Regions from separate parts of the Homo sapiens genome. Here region 2 is linked to region 1. The links are contacts of gene promoters, found by promoter capture Hi-C in human tissues and cell types (Jung and others, 2019). All regions are on one chromosome and are shown on one strand. The core of a region is centred on a gene start or on the middle of the fragment in contact, and the rest is flanking DNA. Distances in the headings are between cores, read along the strand shown.

Evidence for each region. The method cuts DNA at HindIII sites, captures the fragments that hold promoters and counts their contacts. A contact is called where the count stands out against the background at its distance.
Region 2: a fragment that was not itself captured here is called in contact with the fragment with the promoter of GDF3 in region 1 in 1 of the 25 tissues and cell types used here (H1 embryonic stem cells).

The regions. Positions count from the first base shown.
Region 1 is chr12:7,691,142-7,698,633 of GRCh38, forward strand. GDF3 (growth differentiation factor 3) reads right to left here and starts at 4,634. Exons shown (of 2, transcript NM_020634.3): 1 at 4,320-4,634. The coding sequence starts at 4,587. RefSeq lists an enhancer at 2,478-3,115. The HindIII fragment of the contact is 8,403 bases long and covers 1-7,492 here.
Region 2 is chr12:7,730,557-7,738,048 of GRCh38, forward strand. CLEC4C (C-type lectin domain family 4 member C) reads right to left here. Exons shown (of 6, transcript NM_001371390.1): 4 at 6,873-7,018; 5 at 241-356. Among named protein-coding and RNA genes, the nearest start is that of CLEC4C, 13 kb to the right of the region's middle. RefSeq lists a silencer at 6,784-6,984. The HindIII fragment of the contact is 6,238 bases long and covers 1-6,188 here.

The sequences.
Region 1 (7,492 bases), core at 3,384-5,883:
TCCGTCTCAAAAAAAAAAAAAAAGAAAGCCAGAGGTTCTTATCTTCACATCCACAGGTTCCCAGAGATTCCTGGATGAAATGTAGAGGGTGCACGAACTTAGATGGGAAAAATAATTACATCATTATTTCCACTAAACTCTAAATGAAATTTAGCATTTCCTTCATTATGAATATAGGTAACAAATCCCAGTAATATCATCAGGGCCTATGACATTGTTATCAATAAAATCATAGGTGTGTTCATACGTTTAGTTGTTGCAAATAACTTAAAATATTTATGGAGTCCAGGCAAGGTGGCTCATGCCTGTAATCCCAGCACGTTGGGAGGCTGAGATGGGAGATTTGCTTGAGGCCAGGAGTTTGAGACCATCCTGGGCAACATAGTGAAACCCCATCTCTACAAAATAAATAAATAAATAAAAGAAAAGAAAAAGAAAAAAAAAAACAAAACACTTATGCTAACACTATGCCGAAATTTATGGTAGTTATAGGTATAGTCACCTCCCTAAATCTTGTTATGTATTACATGAATAAAGCATTATATATATTACTATATATACATTTGTCTTTAAAATATTTTAAAAGCCAGGCGTGGTGGCTCATGCCTGTAATCCCAGCACTTTGGGAGGCCGAGGCGGGCGGATCACGAGATGAGGAGATCGAGACCATCCTGGCTAACACGGTAAAACCCCATCTCTACTAAAAATACAAAAAATTAGCCGGGCAAGGTGGAGGGTGCCTGTAGTTCCAGCTACTCAGGAGGTTGAGGCAGGAGAATGGTGTGAACCCGGGAGGCGGAGCTTGCAGTGAGCCAAGATCACGCCACTGCACTCCAGCCTGGGCGACAGAGCAAGACTCTGCCTCAAAAAATAAAAAATAAATAAAAAATAAAAAAAGTTTTAAAAAAATTTTAAAATGTATTTCAATATTTAATTGGTTTCTTTTGAAATCCTAAATATTTTACTTTAGGCACTTAAACCATTATTCTGAGAAAGAGTCAATAGACTGGGCCGGGACATGGTGGCTCACACCAGTGATCCCAGCACTTTGGGAGGCCAAGGCGGGCAGATAACCTGAGGTCAGGAGACCAGACTGACCAACATGGAGAAAACCTGTCTCTGCTAAAAATACAAAAAAATTAGCCGGGCAGGGTGGCACATGCCTGTAATCCCAGCTACTCGGGAGGCTGAGGCAGGAGCATCACTTGAATTTGGGAGGCAGAGGTTGTGGTGAGCCGATATCACACCATTGTACTCCAGCCTGGGCAACAAGAGCAAAACTCCGTCTCAGTTAAAAAAAAAAAAAAAATAGCAACCTAGACAGTCAGGTGTTGTTGGCCAAAGTCCAATCATTCAGATTGGCTTTAATTTTTTTTTTTTTTTTCTGAGACGGAGTCCTGCTCTGTTGCCCAGGCTGGAGTGCACTGGCTTGATCTCAGCTCACTGCAACCTCCGTCTCTCGGGTTCAAGCAATTCTCCTGAATCAGCCTCTGGAGTAGCTGGGATTACAGGTGCACACCACGTCTGGCTAATTGTATTTTTAGTAGAGACGGGGTTTCACCATGTTGGCCAGGCTGGTCTCAAACTCCTGACCTCAGGTGATCCGCCCACCTCGGCCTCCCAAAGTGTTGGGATTACAGGCAAAAGCCACCACACCCAGCCAATTTTTTTTTTAAGTTTTTGTAGAGATAGGGTCTCTCTATGTTGCCTAGGCTTATCGAGAACTCCTGAGCTCAAAGGATCCTCCCACGTCTCAAAGTGCTGGGATTACAGTCACGAGCCACTGTGCCCAGCCTCTCCTCATATTGAAGTACAATGTGATTCTTCGATTTTTGTCCATGGATGCCCCTCTTCTGAAGTTACAAATGTGCTCTCCCTGTTTTCTAAGCTAACTTTCCTGCCTGAATTTTCAAATTTTACCTATTCCTCTAGGAAAAGGCCCAATACAGTCTACTTTTACTATTTGCATCTTCAATTTCTCCCTTTTCACAAATAACTCATTTGGCCTCTAATGCCATCATTTTGTTTGGTAGAATGACTTCACGCTTGAGTAGGTATTTTCTCTCTTTTTCTTTCCCCGAGATGGAGTCTTGCTCTGTCACCCAGGCTGGAGTGCAGTGGTGCGATCTTGGCTCACAGCAACCTCTGCCTCCCGGGTGTTCAATCGATTTTCCTGCCTCAGCCTCCAGAGTAGCTGGAATTACAGGCGCCCGCCACCACACCTGGCTAATTTTTTTTTTTTTTTTTTTTGGTATTTTTAGTAGAGACGGGGGTCAGGGGAGTGGGGGGAGGGCCTTACCATGTTGGCTAGGCTGGTCTCGAACTCCTGGCCTCGTGATCTGCCTGCCTCGGCCTCCCAAAGTGCTGGGATTACAGGTGTGAGCCACCACGCCCAGCCTTAAGTAGGTATTTTCTGAGGTCATTCAGCTTAGGGAGAAATTACAACTCAAACCGAAACACTCTTAAGCACCCCACCACCACACCTCTTCATTCTCAAGCATCATTCAAAACCTAACAAAATTTGGCTGGGCATGGTGGCTCATGCCTATAATCCCAGCACTTTGGGAGGTCAAGGCAGGCCATTGCCTGAGCTCAGAAGTTAGAGACCAGCCTCATGGTGAGACCTCATCTCTATAAAAAAGTACAAAAATCAGCCTGGCGTGGTTGCGTGCACCTGTAGCCTGTAGTTCCAACTACTCTACTCGGCAGGCTGAGGTGGGAAGATCGCTTGAGCCCAGGAGGTGGAGGCTGCAGTGAGCCGAGATTGTGCCACTGCAGTCCAGCCTGGGTGACACAGCAAGACCTGTCTCAAGGGGAAAAAACAAAAAGAGGAAGAACAAGAGGAAGAAGAAGAAAAGCCTGAAGTACTTGACCAGGCAAATTCTGAGGGAGTACTTCAGGCAGCCTGGATACAGCACGTGTGAGGATGAGACAAGAGTGCATGCTCTAGAAGGAATAGACTACTATGAGCTTGGAGTTGAGTGTGCAAGGAGAGGGTGTAAAAGGTGAGACTGGGGAAGTAAGCAGCAGGGTCAGAACAGGCAGGGCATGGTGGGTCAACTCTTGCAGAATTTTGCAGACGAGAATTTTACGTGGAGGAGCAGTACGACTCAATACGCATTTTTAAAAGGTAATTCTGGGCTGGGTGCGGTGGCTCAGGCCTGTAATCCCAGCAGTTTGGGAGGCTGAGGCAGGCGGATCACCTGAAGTCAGGAGTTCAAGACCAGCCTGGCCAACATATAGTGAAACCCTGTCTCTACTAAAAAATTAAAAAATTAAAAAATTAGCTGGGCTTGGTGACACACGCCTGTAATCCCAGCTACTTGGGAAGCTGAGGCAGAAGAATCACTTGAACCCAGGAAGCGGAGGTTGCAGTGAGCTGAGAAAGTGCCACTCTACTCCAGCCTGGGGGACAGAGCGAGACTCTCAAAAAAAAAAAAAAAAAAAAAAGGCAAACTTTATCTTGTATTCTCAAGGCCATACACAGTTCCTGGCTCACCATAGGTATCCAATAAGTGCTTCTTGGACAAATAAATATTCAAATCTTCTCTCCAGTTGCTGTAAAACTAACCAAGGCTCTAAATTCTGCATCTGAAACACCCGGGAGGTTGTATAGACATGCAGATTCTCAACACCCATTTCAGACTTTGAATAAGAATTGGGTGGGGAGAACTAGGGGCAGGAATGGGGTTGGAGGATCTACTGTTAATGGAAGACCTAAGTTATTTGGTGGGTGGTCAGTTTGGGAAAGTACTGGATCCCACTCACTGAGATCCTTTTAAAAGGATATGACAGTTGTATATATTATTGCTCTCTATTCACAAATCTAGAATAACCTTTGCCACCCAACAAGAGTAGCCAGGAGGTACAAATAAGGGAAGCAGGACTCCTGGGCAAACCAACCTCAAAATTTTCATACCCTGCTTGCCACATGGAAGACGGCAGGATGTGTATATATGGGCTGCAGGGTGGGAGACTGAGCTCTGATTCCTCCCTCACCTCTTTCATCTCAACTGAAGCACAAAGCAGTTGATTCAGAAAACAAAAACCTATTTCAAATCCTGACTTTGTTCTCACACACTAGCTGTATGATCTTGAATAGATTACAGGTTACCTACTGTCTGAGCCTAATTTCCTTACTGTTAGGAACTTGATAAGAATATCTAACTTCCTCTCAGGATCGTGGCTGGAATTAAATGAGACAAAATATGAAAAATACCAGCACAAGGCCATCAGTAATTGTCATTTCCTATTGTCCTTTCCTTTCTTCACACCACCCAGTTCCAGATGTTTTTCTGGATAACACTCTATTTCCTTACCTTGGTCTGGGAGAAAGCGAAGTACATTCCCGCGGACGCCCAGCTCCTTTACGTAGCATAAGTCTCGGGAGACCCCAGTGGTCGCTGCTGCCTCGCGATCCTGGAAAATTTTCTTCAAGATATAAGGCACAGGTTGGAACTTCTGGGGTGAAGGCGCCTTATCTAAGCCCAGAAATTGGAGAAAGACATATTCTTGAAATTGGACTGCCTGGCCCAAAGCCAGAATTAACAGGAAGCTGAAAGCCAAATCTGGCAAGAAACGAAGCATGGCCTCTGGAGTGGCTGTCAGACCGGGGAGAGCTCCACTGCCAGACTGCCCAACAATTCAGAGGCTGCTAATTTATCTGATGTAAGATAATCAAGTGTGAATTGCTCTCTTCCCAGCTCCTCAAAGGCCATTGGATGTGAAGAGGGAATTTTTTTTTCTCTTCTCTTGCTCTACTCTTCCAGGAAAAAGTTCACAGAACAAAGATTACCAATGCATGGACATAAATTCTACAACAATGTGAGGTTGTCAGCAGTAGACAGAGTGAAAAGGAGACATGCATTTATTCATTTAACAAACAGTTACTAAGCATCTATTATGTGCACGGTGCTGAGATAGGTGCTAGGAATAGAGCAGTGAATAATTCATAGACTTGTAATTAATCATCTACATAGACCAAGCTTGTCCAACCTGCGGCCGGAGGGTCACATGAGGCTCACGATGGCTTTGAATGCAGCCCCACACAGATTCATAAACTTCCGTAAAACATTATGAAACTTTCTTGTGATTTTTTTAAGCTCATCAGCTATCATTAGTGTTAGTATATTTTACGTGTGGCCCAAAACAATTCTTCTTCTTCCAATGTGACCCAGGGAAGCCAAAAGATTGGACACCCCTGGATTAGACAAATACTCAAGTAGATTTCATTATTTTATTTTTATTTTTATTTTTATTTATGTATTTATTTATTTTTGAGACAGGGTCTCGCTCTGTTGCCCAGGCTGGAGTGCAGTGGCCTGATCTTGGCTCACTGCAAGCCTCGACCCCCTGAGCTCAAGAGATCATCCCACCTCAGCCTCTGGAGTAGTTGAGACTACAGGCATAGGGCACCACTTCCAGCTAATTGTTTTATTTTTTACAGAGATGGGGCCTTGCCATGTTGTCCAGACTGGTCTTGAACTCCTGGTCTCAAGCAGTCTTCCCACCTCGGCCTCCCAAAGTGCTGGGATTGTAGGCATGAGCCACTACACCCAGCCGCCAGCCTTGTTTCTCACCACCCACCATCCTTAGTGTGGATGCTCTAATTACATTGACCTATTTGTAGCTCTGTGAGCTCATTTCATCTCAGAGCCTTTACACAGACCAAGTTCAAAGGTCACCTCTACTTCCACAGTTTCGACTCACCAAAATAGATTGAGATACTTCTTTCTCCCACTGAGCCATACTTGGGCATCCATTACAGTTTTTTTGTTTTTTTGTTTTTTTTGAGACGGAGTTTCGCTCTTGTTGCCCTGGCTGCAGTGCAATGGCACGATCTCAGCTCACCACAACCTCTGCCTCCCAGGTTCAAGCAATTCTCCTGCCTCAGCCTCCCTAGTAGCTGGGATTACAGGCATGCGCTACCATGCCCGGCTACTTTTGTATTTTTAGTAGAGACGGGGTTTCTCCATGTCGGTCAGGCTGGTCTCAAACTCCTGACCTCAGGTAATCCACCCACCTCGGCCTCCCAAAGTGTTGGGATTATAGGTGTGAGCCACTGCACCCGGCCCTCCATTACAGTTTCTGCAGTGCATTTTACTGTGTTTGCCTCCTTCCTTTTCAGACAACTCACACCTTGAGGATCAGAACTGTGTCTCTTTGCCTAAGTATCTTCAGTGTGTCTTTTTCCCCAAAGTATCTCCACTGGTGAAGAAAGTGTCCGGCAGGTAGCAGACATTTGATAAGTATCTGTGCAAAAAATAAATTAAGGAATTAATTGGTTGCTATTTCTAGAGGTCTCACTCTTTTATATAGTGAGGTCTTCCCCATTTCTTTTTTTTCTTTTTTTTTTTTAGAGACTAGGTTTGGGGAGTGTCTCACTGTGTTGCCCAGGCTGGCCTTGAATTACTGGATCAAGGGAATCTTCTGCCTCAGCCTCCAAGTAACTAGAACTACAGGCAGGTGCCACTGCTCGCAGGTCCCACTTCTCTTATCTCCTGTTTCTATCTTATTTAACACTTTTAAATTAATCTACAATCTTAACCTTTTTTCAACAATAAGAGTAGGTTGTATTTGGGTTTTCTTTATTTGACTTTCCTGACTTAAGGTCAGAAATCAGACTAACTGGTTCAAATTCTGGTTCCACTACTGATTAGTTATGTGACCATGAGCAAGCCACTCAAGTGTAAAATGGGAATAAAATATTCTTCGTTGCTGGGCGCGGTGGCTCATGCCTGTAATCCTAGCACTTTGGGAGGCCGAGGCGGGCGGATCACGAGGTCAGGAGATCGAGACCATCCTGGCTAACATGGTGAAACCCCGTCTCTACTAAAAATACAAAAGAATTAGCCGGGCATGGTAGCGGGTGCCTGTAGTCCCAGCTACTCGGGAGGCTGAGGCAGGAGAATGGCGTGAACCCAGGAGGCGGAGCTTGCAGTGAGCAGAGATCGCGCCACTGCACTCCAGCCTGGGATAGAGCAAGACTCCGTCTCAAAACAAACAAACAAACAAACAAAAACATTCTTTGTTAAGGTGCTGAGGGCAACTCGTAAAATAATGTACAGATGACATTCAGGACAATGTCTGCCGAATGGAAAGCACTCAATAAAAGTTAGCTATTATTATTATCGTCATTATTATTAATTAAAGAGGAGGTCGATCAGGTGCAGTGGCTTGTGCCTGTAGTCCCAGCCGCTTAGAAGCCTGAGGTGGGAAGATCCCTCGAGCTCAGGAGTGCGACGCCAACCTGGGTACTATAGCAAGACCCAGTTCCTAAAGGAAAAAAAAAAGGTTCAGCAGAGCACAAGCTAAGAGAAAAAGAAAAAAAAAAAAAAAAAAAAAAAAAAGGCAGGGAGAGAGGTAGTTTGATCATGGAGGGAAAAAGAAGTAATAGAGAATGTGCAGTTGCCTAGCAGGAAAAGCACCAAATCGGCCAGGGGATCTGAGTTAAGCACAGCATTTCCAATTACGATGTAATCGTAGGCTGGGC
Region 2 (7,492 bases), core at 1,820-4,319, 38 kb after region 1:
TTGAACCCAGGAGGCAGAGGTTGCAGTGAGCCAAGATCATACCACTGCACTCTAGCCTGGGTGATGGAGTGAGACTCTTGTCTAAAAAAAAAAAAAAAAAAGCACAACCCTTGATGTCAAATAGACCTAGGTTTTAAAAAGTGTTGTGGGTTTTATTGTTTGTTTGCTTAATAGCTGATGGAACACCCTAAACCCCTACATGATCAGGACCCAGTGTCCTTTACCTCATTCTATACTCACGTGACATTTTCATTGTATGGTGTCTGGTCAACCCATTGCCAATGTCGCCGACCCCCTGGATCTGACAGCCCCAGAAAATAAGAAGAATTTCTTTTCAGATTCTGAATGATGAAATCCTGAGGGAAGAAAATGGAAGAGTCATAGCTGATAGAGCAGGAGCACCCTCATCTGGGACGAACACCGCCACTTTAAGTTCCAGCTCCCTTTCTAGCCTCATGCATTTCAAGGAAATCACTTCTCTTCTAACTACAAGCAGACAGAAAGAGCAGACAGCAAAACACAGATAAGACAGCTCAGGCACATAGGGAGGTGGAGGAAAAGTCTCTTGGGTAACTGCCAAACTTCACCCTCATACAATGGACCCCAGTAAAACAGTGGGCCTTAATAAGCACATTCCTTTCCCTTCAGGTGCACTAAGATAGGAAAGCTAAAGGCAGACTGGGGGGATATGCCTGCAGCTGCACAAAGATGTATGGGAACAGACATACAACTCTCCCTCCCAGATAAGCACAACAAAGAGACACAGAAGCAGTCCAAGCCTCTGATAAACTCTCCCACCCTGAATCCTTAAAAACTCTTGGTCTGTAAGAGAGTGGGCCTCTGATCTAACTCAGCCAGAAGCTCCTCTCAGGTTTATTTTCTCTAAAATAATTCTCTAAAATAGACTGGCAAGCCACCTTTCGTATTTCTTTCCTCTTTCTTTAATTCTTACAATAGCCTTTAGGGGACTCAAGTTGAACTGAGTTCTTACCGCCATAGGAAGAAAAGAATAAAAGGAGAAGACCCAGGAGTAGCCACAAAGGGCCCCTGTCCAGCAGCAGAGGCCTCTGGCTGAGCAGGGCTGGATCAAAGACATCACTTGTGAGCATGATGTTTGGCACGTACAGGAGCACGCTCTAGCCATGGCCATCATAAATCCTCATGTCACACTTGCTTTCCTATTTCTTTGCTAAGTGACAGCATTCTTCAAGACTCTGCATGTAGTGAGGAAATTCTCCCTCACTCCTAATATATTCTTCTTGTAAAGGGAGTCTGTAATCTCAACTACTCGAGTGGCTGAGGCATGAGAATCGCCTGAACCTGGGAAGTAGAAGCTGCAGTGAGCCGAGCTCACGTTATTGCACTCTAGCATGGGTGACAGAATGAGACTCTGTGTCCAAAAAATGCAAACCCACCCCCTGCCCAAAAATAAAAAACAACTTTGCATGAACACTCCAAATGCTTCAGGTCACTTTTTTTTCTTTCTTTTTTTAGACAGAGTCTTACTCTGTTACCCAGGCTGGAGTGCAGTGGCACGATCTCGGGTCACTGCAACCTCTGCCTCCCGGGTTCAAGTGAGTATCCTGCCGCAGCCTCCTAAGTAGCTGGGATAACAGGCATGCAACATCATGCCTGGTTAATTTTTGTATTTTTAGTAGAGACGGGGTTTCACCATGTTGGCCAGGCTGGTCTCAAACTCGTGACCTCAGTTGATTTGCCTGCCTAGGCCTCCCAAAGTGCTGGGATTACAGGCGTGAGCCATGATGTCCAGCCACAGGTCACTTTATTTTTTTATTTTTTTTATTTATTTTTTTGAGATGGAGTCTCACTCTGTCGCCAGGCTGGAGTGCAGTGGTGTGATCTCGGCTCACTGCAACCTCCAAATCCCTGGTTCAAGCGGTTCTTCTGCCTCAGGCTCCAGAGTAGCTGGGATTACACGCACGAGCCACCATGCCCAGCTAATTTTTTTGTATTTTTAGTAGAGATGGGGTTTCACCATGTTGGCCAGGATGGTCTCGATCTCCTGACCTTGTGATCCACCCTCCTCGGCCTTCCAAAGTGCTGGGATTACAGGCGTGAGCCACCGTGCCCGACCACAGGTCACTTTAAAATAAAGATATTTATGGCCAGGTGTGGTGGTTCACGCCTATAATCCAAGCATTTTGGGAGGCTGAGGATGGCGGATCACGAGGTCAGGAGATCAAGACCATACTGGCTAACATGGTGAAACCCCGTCTCTACCAAAATACAAAAAATTAGCCGGGCATGGTGGCAGGCAGCTACTCAGGAGGCTGAGGCAGGAGAATGGCATGAACCCAGGAGGCGGAGCTGCAGTGAGCGGAGATCGCGCCACTGCACTCCAGTCTCGGCGACAGAGGGACAGAGCAACATTCTGTCTCAAAAAATAAAATAAAGATATTTATAATAGTAGTAGTTAAAATTAGTCATTGTCTACTATATGCCAAGTATTATGCCATGAGTTTGCATAAGTTACTTCACGTAAATTTTACAACTACTACTGTGAGGAAGATAGTGTGGCTGTCTCCATTTTACTAAGTCTCAGGAAACAGATTTAGAAAGATAAAGTTGTCAAACGTCACACAACTAATAAATAACAGAGATCTAACTCTAGAGCCAGTATTCTTAACCAGTACATGTTCTGTGTTACAAGAAAGATAGAGGTCTATAATCAAATTTTAGAAAGCCAAATTTTTTTTTTTTTTTGGAGGTGGAGTCTTGGTCTGTTGCCAAGGCTGGAGTGCAATGGTGTGATCTCGGCTCAGGGCAACCTTTGCTTTCTGGGTTCAAGCAATTCTCATGCCTCAGCCTCCTGAGTAACTGGGACTACAGGTGTATGCCACCACACCTGGCTAATTTTTGTATTTTTAGTAGAGATGGAGTTTCACCATGTTGACCAAGCTGGTCTTTTTTTTTTTTTTTTTTGAGACTGAGTCTTGCTCTGTCGCCCAGGCTAGAGTGCAGTGGCGAGATCTTGGCTCACTGCAAGCTCCGCCTCCTGGGTTCACGCCATTCTCCTGCCTCAGCCTCCCGAGTAGCTGGAACTACAGGCTCCCGCCACCATGCCCTGCTAATTTTTTGTATTTTTAGTAGAGACGGGGTTTCACCATATTAGCCAGGATGGTCTCAATCTCCTGACCTTGTGATCCAGCTGCCTCAGCCTCCCAAAGTGCTGGGATTACAGGCGTGAGCCACCGCACCTGGCCCCCAAGCTGGTCTTGAACTCCTGGCCTCAAGTGATCTGCCCACCTTCGCCTCCCAACATGCTGAGATTACAGGCGTGAGCCACCACACCCAGCCGTCATATATTTTGTTTTGTTTTACTTGTTTCTTTTTGAGATGGAGTCTTGCTCTCTCACCCAGGCTGGAGTGCAGTGGTATGATCTCGGCTCACTGCAACCTCTACCTCCCAGATTCAAGCAATTCTTCTGCCTCAGCCACCCAAGTATCCGGGACTACAGGCATGAAACACGTCGCCAGGCCTCAAATAATGTTGTACAAACAAGAAAAGATATTTTGACATAGGTTTTCAGATTATTTTGAATGTACATGAACATATACGAGACATTGTTAGTGGTTTGTGTGCTTCCCTCCCTCTCCGCCATATCAATTTATCTATTCATTCATTCATTGAACATTCAAGCAGTCTATTGTCTGCCCAGACCCTGTGCTAAATGTGGCATAAGAAGTCAAAACAAATAAAAGTTTACAACATGGCTGGGGAGACAGGATGAACAGCACTTTTGAAAACTTTGTACGGTTAGGCAAAAATTAGAGTCCAGAGCCAAGAAAGAGGTAAGGGTAAATAGGCAGTAAATCAGACCTCATATAGATTATGATCTGGCTTTGAATCATTTGGATATTGTAGAAATTTCAAGCCCTGAAATTGCCATAATGTACTGTAGGACTTGTGCCAAGGCATGTGGCAAAAGCAAATGAAAATACTCTTTGGAAGAGAATAATATCTGAGGCCTCCAATTTTTTTTTTTTTTTTGAGACAGTTTTGCTTTTTCACCCAGACTGGAACGAAGTGGCATGATCTTGGCTCACTGCAACCTCTGCCCCCTGGGTTCAAGTGATTCTCCTGCCTCAGCCTCCCGAGTAACTGTGATTACAGGCATGTGCCACCATGCCGAGCTAATTTTTGTATTTTTAGTAGAGAAGGGTTTCGCCATGTTGGCCAGGCTGGTCTCAAACTCCTGACCTGAGGTGATCCACCCGCCTCAGCCTCCCAAAGTGCTAGGATTACAAGCATGAGCCACCGTGCCTGGCCTCCAATTATTTTTATAAATAATTTTTCAAGTACAACATCCATCACACAAGGATAATTTGAAACATTCCATAGGCCAGGCATGGTGTCTCAGGCCTATAACCCCAGCACTTTGGGAGACCGAGGCAGGCTGATCACTTGAGGCCAGGAGTTTGAGACTAGCCTGGACAACATGGTGTAACCCTGTCTCTACTAAAAATACAAAAATTAGCCAGGAGCGGTGGCATGCACCTGTAATCCCAGCTGGTCAGGAGGCTGAGTCAGAAGAATCACTTGAACACAGAAGTCAGAGGTTGCAGTGAGCCGAGATCACACCACTGCACTCCAGCCTGGGGTGACAGAGAGAGACTCTGTCTCAAAAAAATAAAAAAAGAAGATCTGGGCACAGTGGCCCACACCTGTAATCCCAGCAATTTGGGAGGCTGGGGCAGGTAGATCACCTGAGGTCAGGAGTTCGAGACTAGCCTGGCCAACATGGTAAAACCTCATCTTTACTAAAAATACAAAAATTAGCTGGGCGTGGTTGCAGGCGCCTGTAATCCCAGCTATTCAGGAGGCTGAGACAGGAGAATCGCTTGAACCCAGGAAGCAGAGGTTGCAGTAAGCAGAGATCTTGCCACTGCACTCCAGCCTGGGCGATAGAACAAGACTCTGTCTCAAAGAAAAAAAAAAAAAAAAACGGCCAGGCACGGTGGCTCACGCCTGTAATCCCAGCACTTTGGGAGACCGAGGCAGGCAGATCACGAGGTCAGGAGTTTGAGACTAGCCTGGCCAATATGGTGAAACCCCGTCTCTACTAAAAATACAAAAATTAGCCAGGTGTGGTGGTGGTCGCCTGTAATCCCAGCTACTCGGGAGACAGAGAGGAGAATCGCTTGAACGCAGGAGGTGGAGGTTGCAGTGAGCTGAGATCGAGCCACTGCACTCCAGCCTGGCGACAGAGCAAGACTCCATCTCAAAAAAAAGAAAAAAAAAGCAAAAACCAGTAACAGCAAAAAAACAAGCTTAAGTGTTGAACATTATAAAGTTTGACAGCATATTTGAAAGAGAAGCAAGATCAATTCTAGATTTGAAAAATACAATAATTGAATTTAGATGTTAATATATGGCTTTAATAGCAGGATAGACATAGTTGAAGAAGATTAGTCAAGTGGGAGGGCCAGGTGTGGTGGCTCACGCCTGTAATCCCAGAACTTTGGGAGGCCGAGGTGGGTGGATCACGAGGTCAGGAGTTCAAGACCAGCCTGGCCAACATGGTGAAACCCCCGTCTCTACTAAAAATACAAAAATTAGCTGGGTGTGGTGGCACGCACCTGGAGTCCCAGTTACTCGGGAAGCTGAGGCAGGAGAATCGCTTGAACCTGGGAGGCGGAGGTTGCAGTGAGCCAAGACCGTGCCATTGCACTCCAGCCTGGGCGCCATTGCACTCCAGCCTGGGCAACAGAGTGAGACTCTGTCTCAAAAACAAAAAGAAGATTAGTGAACTGGAATAGAAGGACAGAAGAAACTGTTTAAAATCAAGTACAAAGAGAAAAATAGATGGAAAATGTTGAAAAGAAGGTAAGAAATGCAGAGGATACAGTATGAAGGACTAATGTTTAATTGGTTGACATTTCTTAGATGGCAAATATTAATATCATTTTTCCATTTTTCAAATTCACTATTTTATTTGCCTGAATTTTTTTTCTTATATTTTTAAAATTAAAATTCTTCAGGATCAAATTTCAACATCAATGTTTGCCTGAAGTTTGCTCCGGAATTTGTTTTATTAAAGTTATTGTTAGCCAGACGTGGTGGCTCACACCTGTAATCCCAGCACTTTGGGAGGCCGAGACGGGCAGATCACGAGGTCAGGAGATCCAGACCATCCTGGCTAACACAGTGAAACCCCATCTCTACTAAAAATACAAAAAAATTAGCCGGGCGTGGTGGCAGGTGCCTGTAGTCCCAGCTACTTGGGAGGCAGGAGAATGGTGTGAACCCGGGAGGCTGAGCTTGCAGTGAGCTGAGATTGTGCCACTGCACTCCAGCCTGGGCAACAGAGCAAGACTCCGTCTCAAAATAAATAAATAAATAAATAAAAATAAAAAATAAAGTTATTGTTGGCCACACATGGTGGCTCACGCCTATAATCCCAACACTTTGAGAGGCCGAGGCAGGTGGATCATTTGAGGTCAGTAGTTCAAGATCAGCCTGACTAACATGGTGAAACCTCGTCTCTTCTAAAAATACAAAAATTAGCCAGGCGTGGCGGTACATGCCTATCCTCCCAGCTACTTGGGAGGCTGAGGCAGGAGAATCACTTGACCCCGGGAGGCGGAGGCTGCAGGGAGCTGAGATCGTGCCATTACACTCCAGCTTGGGTGACAAAAGGAGACAGTCCCCCCAAAAAAAATAAAAATAAAAGTCATTTTTGAGTGTTCCAGATTAAGGAGATTTTCCTGTGTTTTTTGTTTTTTGGGTTTTTTTTTACCCAGAAGTTTTTTTTTTTTTCCTGTCTTTGAACTTTCAGGGCAATAAAAAGACTCTTTATCAGTTAAGAAAGGAAACAGATTAGCTGACCACCTTGCCTGTTAGAACATACCTGTTCTTCCCTGGTGTTGATCACCACCAGATCAGCCCCCATCACAGAACAGTTCTTTTGACTCTTAGTCCAAGATTGCATCCCAGTAGAAATAAAGTAGCAACTAGACTGAAATGAAGTCCAAGGGGTTGGGCAGCAGCTCCAATCTTCCCAAATGAGTATAGAAGAAGAAAAAATATTAACAGAGAATTCTCCTCACATAAAGTTATAAGCTTAGCTTGCTAAGGTTTAATTAGTTTTCACCTATGGATCTCCACGGATTTTCCAAAGCTGAACTCATTTACTGGTGTATTTACTAATCCCTAGATCATTTCACTCTATACAGGGACCAGCAAACTTCCTGCAAAAGGCCAGATAGTAAATATCTCAGGCTTTTTGGGCCATACGGTTTCTGTTGCAACTGCTTAACTCTGCTACTGCAGTACGAAAGCAACCACTGGCAATATGTTACCAAAGAAAAAAAAAAGAACATGAGTATGGCAATAAAATGCCATTTACAAAACTAGGCAGCTTGTTGAGTTTGGCCCATGCCTTAGTTTTCCAGGCCCTGCTTTAAACCCACAAAAATGATCTGAAAGACAAATACTTTAACTTCAGGTTCTCATCATTCATTGGTGGTC